Regions from separate parts of the Homo sapiens genome. Here region 2 is linked to region 1. The links are contacts of gene promoters, found by promoter capture Hi-C in blood cells and fetal thymus (Javierre and others, 2016). All regions are on one chromosome and are shown on one strand. The core of a region is centred on a gene start or on the middle of the fragment in contact, and the rest is flanking DNA. Distances in the headings are between cores, read along the strand shown. Region 1 holds the start of LZIC (leucine zipper and CTNNBIP1 domain containing). Region 2 overlaps PGD (phosphogluconate dehydrogenase).

Region 1 (2,969 bases), core at 421-2,920:
TCTCTTGCCCTCGTGATCTGCCTGCCTCGGCCTCCCAAAGTGCTGGGATTACAGGCGTGAGCCACCGCACCCGGCCTTTACCTTTTCTTTATACACCAGCATCCAGCACAATCTTGGACAGACAAAAAGTGCCGAATAAACAACTGGTAGATGAATAATGAGAATTGATTGCTTCTTCTTTAGCATTCAAATCTTTTTTTTTAAAATTTTTTTTGAGACGGAGTCTCGCTCTGTCGTCCAGGATGGAGTGCAGTGGCGCGATCTCGGCTCACTGCAACCTCAGCCTCCTGGGTTCAAGCAATTCTCCTGCCTCAGCCTCTCCAGTAGCTGGGACTACAGGCATGCGTCACCACATCTGGCTAATTTTTGTATTTTTAGTAGAGATGGGGTTTCACCATGTTGTCCAGGCGAGTCTTGAACTCCTGACCTCTGGTGATCCACTTGCCTCAGTCTCCCAAAGTGATGGGATTACAGGCGTGAGTCACCGCGCCCAGCTCAAATCTTATTCTCTATTTAGCACTTATTTCTGCCTTTAATTATATATGATTTTATTATAATACGTTATCTCCTCTGACTAAACTCTGGAGAACAGAATATGAGTCTGATTCCTCTCTCAGCTTTCTCAGTACCTAATACAGAATAGAACGTCGATAATTTGGTCACGTATATAAAGGCTCAACATATTTTAAGGAGCTAAAGCTATTCTGAATACATTTCAGTAAAAATGGGTGCATTTTAAAAGCCTTAACCTGGTACTACATTAGTTGAGATTTATCCCCGAAAGATTAACTCGTTGGCACCACCTAGTAGTCACTAAATGTGGTGCACTTTTCACTTTTACGAAACTACAGAAACCGCTCTCAGACACTATATCTGGAGCGGAGGGTCCTCATTCATGCTCACCTGTCTCTTAGTACTCTGATCTCTGCACAGTGCCGACCGGTCTCAAATTGCACAAACCTCCAGTTCTTGACGTTCCGAGTGTCATAAACTTGAGGAAAATGAAATTATTCATCAGGACTACAAAAGGCTCAAAGTTCAAACCACCTCGGGGTGGAGATGCTGGAAAAAAGGAAACCATTAACAAGTAATTTTATTTGCTATATATAAACTTGCCCTAAGGCAGTCCAGATAACTTCCACTTGAGCAGCCTGAGACATCAAGGGCGGGGGCACTTTCCCCCTCGACTGCGCCTACCGCAGCCTTTCTGAGTTTCTTCCTAGCGAGGCCGAGAGGGTCTTTGAGGAAAATCCCGCATCCGGACACGCCTTGAGGGATGGCGTCAAACCCAGAGGCTTGGAAAAGGTAAGGGCGGAGAGCACGCCTCTTCCTTGAAAGTGAGGAGGGTTTGGCCCAGAACCAACAGGACTGGGTGAAGAATCAGCTCCGGCCACCGCAGCAAATCCCACCCCACGCGGGAACTTGAAGTCCGGCACGTAGGTCCCGCGGCGGCCGGGCTCCAACAGGCCCCAATTGCCACCAGAGGTAGCCGTAAACCCATGGTCCCCGAAACTCCTTCCGGGCCTACCTGACAAAAACTGGGACAACCTCCTTAGGCCCCCGGGATTCCCCCTGTGCCGCCTGACCGCCCGCCAGTCCCAGAGTTTAGGGCCAGGGGCCCCGCCTACCTGAGGGCACTGGCCTGGCGGACCGCGCCGGGGGAGCACTTCCGCTGGACGCACGCACTTCCGGCCCCCTGGAACCAATGAGAGTGCGACCGAGATGTTCCACTCGCTGGCGTCCGGGCCGCTGGTGATCTCCGGTAGCACTCGGGCCGGCGGACAGTGAGGGCGCGGTAAGCTCCCCGCAAGGAGCCCCTGAGAAACTGGTCGCTTTTTGTCCTAGATATAGGGGAGTCCAGGATGGTGTGGTGGAGTCTTTAGAGTCGAATATGACCCGAGGCAAGCTCATATTCAGGTTTGGGGCAAGGAGCTTTGATTGACCCTTAATTTTTTCAGTGGAACGGAAAACTTCGGTAAAATAGCTTCTGACCTTCGGAACAGATGGATTCACCTTGGAAAGGAAAAATCTCTTTCTAGAAGAGTCTTGAGGTCTGGCACCTTTAGGCTTAACGGGGGACGGCTGGGCGTCAGAGGAGGAAATCCTTCATTCCGAACGACTTCCCTTTCCTCCTAAATCCTTCTTTCCAAATCTGTAAAAGACTACATCTACTTTGCTGGAGGTGGTTTGACACTCATGCTCCTTGAGAAGGAGGTAATGAGCTGTAGGGCAGCTCTTAAAAAGTTACCCTTGGACGGGCGCGGTGGCTCACGCCTGTAATCCCAGCACTTTGGGAGGCCGAGGCAGGCGGATCACGAGGTCAGGAGTTCGAGACCAGCCTGGCCAACATAGTGAAACCCCGTCTCTACTAAAAATACAAAAAATTAGCTGGGCGTGGTGGTGGGCGCCTGTAATCTCAGCTACTCGGGAGGCTGAGGCAGGAGAATCGCTTGAATCCTGGAGGCGGAGGTTACAGTGAGCCGAGATCGCGCCATTGCACTCCAGCCGGGGCGACAGTTCGAGACTCCATCTCAAAAATAAAAATAAAAAAAAGTTACCCTTGGCTGTCGCGGTGTGACACCTGTAAACCCAGCACTTTGAGAGCCCGCGGTGGGAGGATCATTTGAGCCCAGGCTGGGCAACATAGCAAGACCCTCATAACAAAAAATTAAAAATAAAATTACCCAGAAACTGGTTGGAACTATTTAATGATGTTCTTAGTCCATCTTCCTGAAGTAGTCCACAGAACAACATCAGTGTTCATGGTAGAATTGTTTCATCAGGGCAGTTTTTTTTTAAGTAACAATGTCTTGTTAAAAAACAAGAGCTGTGTTGCCCAGGCTGGAGTGCAGTGGTGTGATCATAGCTCACTGCAGCCTTGAACTCCTGGGCTCAAGCGATCCTCTGGCCTTGGCCCCTCAAAGTGTTGTGGTGATTGGCACAAGCCACCGACAGGCCTGGAGTCTGAA
Region 2 (2,700 bases), core at 151-2,650, 470 kb after region 1:
GGTGGTTCTAAGAGTAAAATACATAGACTTCTGGCAGGAATGAAAAAGGAGAACGAAGGATGCCTCTCGTGGTTAATGAGAGGCTGATCTTTGCTTCTGGCAGATTGTTCTCACTATATTAAAACAGAATTGGGCCAGGCGCGGTGGCTCACGCCTGTAATCCCAGCACTTTGGGTGACCGAGGTGGGCGGATCACGAGGTCAGGAGTTTGAGTCCAGCCTGACCAACATGGCGAAACCCCATCTCTACTAAAAATACGAAAGTTAGCCAGGCATAGTGACCCGTGCCTGTAATCCCAGCTACTCAGGAGGCTGAGGCAGGAGAATCACTTGAACCTGGGAGGCGGAATTTGCAGTGGGCTGAGATCGCACCACTGCACTCCAGGCTGGGCGACCGAGCAAGACTCCGCCTAAAAAAAAAAAAAGAAGCATCTCAAAAATAATAAAACAGAATTTTTCCTGTTTGCTCCTCTGGATACAGGTTGCCTTTCTCTCCCTTGACTCTTCTCCCCTTTTGACCTCCCTGTTCATTGTGCCTCGCCCTATTGAACTGTGTGGTGTAAGGCAGAGTAAGGAGGAAAGTCGGTGGTTTCTACAGTTCCGTGCTGTATAGAAGGAAGTTGGCTGCTTTTAGCCGATCTGAGCCATAACATAGGTGAGGAGGGAGGGGCCAATAGCTAGGAGCAATTTATTCATCACGGACTCAAGTATATGTGTAAGTATTAGGATCTCAGAATCCTACTCTCCTCCTGTGGATCCATATACCTCTTCCCCCAGGGTGGCTGGGCCCACCCCCTGCTGGGAGCCATCATTATTTGTGAACTAACAGGGAAGTCTTCCAGCTGCCCTCTCCCCCTCTAACAGGAAGGGTTTGCCTCATAGCCTGTTGCACCAGTCATCTTACAAAGCTTCCTTCTAGAAATGCTAAGTCATCCTGTGTGTGCATTTGGGCCAGGAGAGAGGTAGCTGCTTTTGTGTGTTTGGAGTAGGGTTAGCAGTCTCAAGCCATAGCTGCTCCTCTTTCCTCAGAAATAAAGTCCTCTGTTAGTTCCCTGAGATTTTACTTCATTTTGTCTATGGGGGAAAAAGTGGTTAAAGAGTCATTTATTCTAACTATAAGTTGTCAGTTGAGCAAGTCTTTTATAAGGAATACTTTCTGAAAATACTAAATGTCTTAATATTAAAATACTACATTGACTTTTTAATTCAAATGAAGTAAAGTGGTTAAACTTGAATGATTACGGCTATACTGAAAACCGTAAAATATAAAAACCTAACATTTTTTTGAGAGGTGAGTCCGTAAATGTGACTTATCAATGTAAAATCTTCAAAAAAAAAAATTAAGGTCCTCTAAATTGAATTTGAAATTTTACTCATGGACCAACACTGAGTATTCTACATAACAGTGGTTTTTATTTTATTTTACTGGTTTTAGAGACAGGGTCTCACTGTGTTGCCCAGGCTGGAGAGCAGTGGTGTGATCATGGCTCACTGTAGCCTTGAACTCCTGGGCTCAAGTGATCCTCCCACCTCAGCCTGCCAAAGTGCTGGGATTACAGGTGTTAGCCACCTTGCCCAGCCATAACAGTGGTTTCTATCTCTTCATTTTCCCTCAAAACTCCCTTTTGAATTTCATGTTAATCTTTGTGATTGAATACTCATGTTTGTATTGGAAGATTGTCTTAAGAGTTTTAGTTATCAAATTAACTGTTTAGAGCTTCTTATAAAAGTTCCTTCCGATCCATGTCAACTTTTGTGGCCTAAGGTTGAAACTTTCAGCTCTTTGTATAAACAGACTTTCCTGCTCCACCTTTCTTCTGGTTGCTGTGCGAACTTTGGTAATTTTCATGCGCATCCGTGTGAAAAGACCACCAAACAGGCTTTGTGTGAGCAATAAAGCTTTTTAATCACCTGGGTGCAGGCAGGTTGAGTCCGAAGAGTCAGCGAAGGGAGATAGGGGTGGGGCCATTTTATAGGATTTGGGCAGGTAGTGGAAAATTACAGTCAAAGGGGGTTTTTCTCTTACGGGCAGGGCCGAGGGGTCACAAGGTGCTCAGTTGGGGAGGTTCTGAGCCAGGAGAAGGAATGTCACAAGGTTAATCGCTCAGTTAAGGTGGGGCAGGAACAAATCACAATGGTGGAATGTCATCAGTAAAGGCAGGAACCAGCCATTTTCACTTCTTTTGTGATTCTTCACTTGCTTCAGGCCATCTGGATGTATACATGCAGGTCACAGGGGATATGATAGTTTAGCTTGGGCTCAGAGGCCTGACAGTAATCTGTTTCCTCTTCCCGATCTCCCCATGTAGGAGAAGCTGTCTTTGCTCGGTGCTTATCATCTCTGAAGGATGAGAGAATTCAAGCTAGCAAAAAGCTGAAGGGTCCCCAGAAGTTCCAGTTTGATGGTGATAAGAAATCATTCCTGGAGGACATTCGGAAGGTGGGACACAGTCCCTGGCAGTGGTCTTTGTTGGTCCTGCGGAAGGCAGTGGGGGTGGGGGTTGTGGTGGGAGAACACTCGAGGCCACAGGATGGCAGGTGGAATGAAGTTCAGCCTTGACTTGGATCTTGACTTACAATGTTTTCCTAGAATATTGGCCCTTCTGGGATCTCCACTGCTGATGAGAATAAGACTGGTAGACATAAGGCGGTCACTCTCCTAATGGCAATCCTAGTAGGTCTCTGTGTCACTCTTTAGGCA

What was found. The method cuts DNA at HindIII sites, captures the fragments that hold promoters and counts their contacts. A CHiCAGO score of 5 or more calls a contact.
Region 2: a fragment that was not itself captured here is called in contact with the fragment with the promoter of LZIC in region 1 in 2 of 17 cell types (activated CD4 T cells and naive CD8 T cells); the score reaches 6.2 in activated CD4 T cells.

Annotation. Positions count from the first base shown.
Region 1 is chr1:9,941,721-9,944,689 of GRCh38, forward strand. It overlaps LZIC (leucine zipper and CTNNBIP1 domain containing), which reads right to left and starts at 1,671. Exons shown (of 8, transcript NM_032368.5): 1 at 1,529-1,671; 2 at 904-1,062. It overlaps NMNAT1 (nicotinamide nucleotide adenylyltransferase 1), which reads left to right and starts at 1,755. Exons shown (of 5, transcript NM_022787.4): 1 at 1,755-1,795. RefSeq lists enhancers at 700-1,270, 804-2,003, 1,271-1,840. The HindIII fragment of the contact is 30,819 bases long and covers 1-2,969 here.
Region 2 is chr1:10,414,679-10,417,378 of GRCh38, forward strand. It overlaps PGD (phosphogluconate dehydrogenase), which reads left to right. Exons shown (of 13, transcript NM_002631.4): 9 at 2,309-2,439; 10 at 2,698-2,700. Among named protein-coding and RNA genes, the nearest start is that of CENPS, 14 kb to the right of the region's middle. The HindIII fragment of the contact is 991 bases long and covers 906-1,896 here.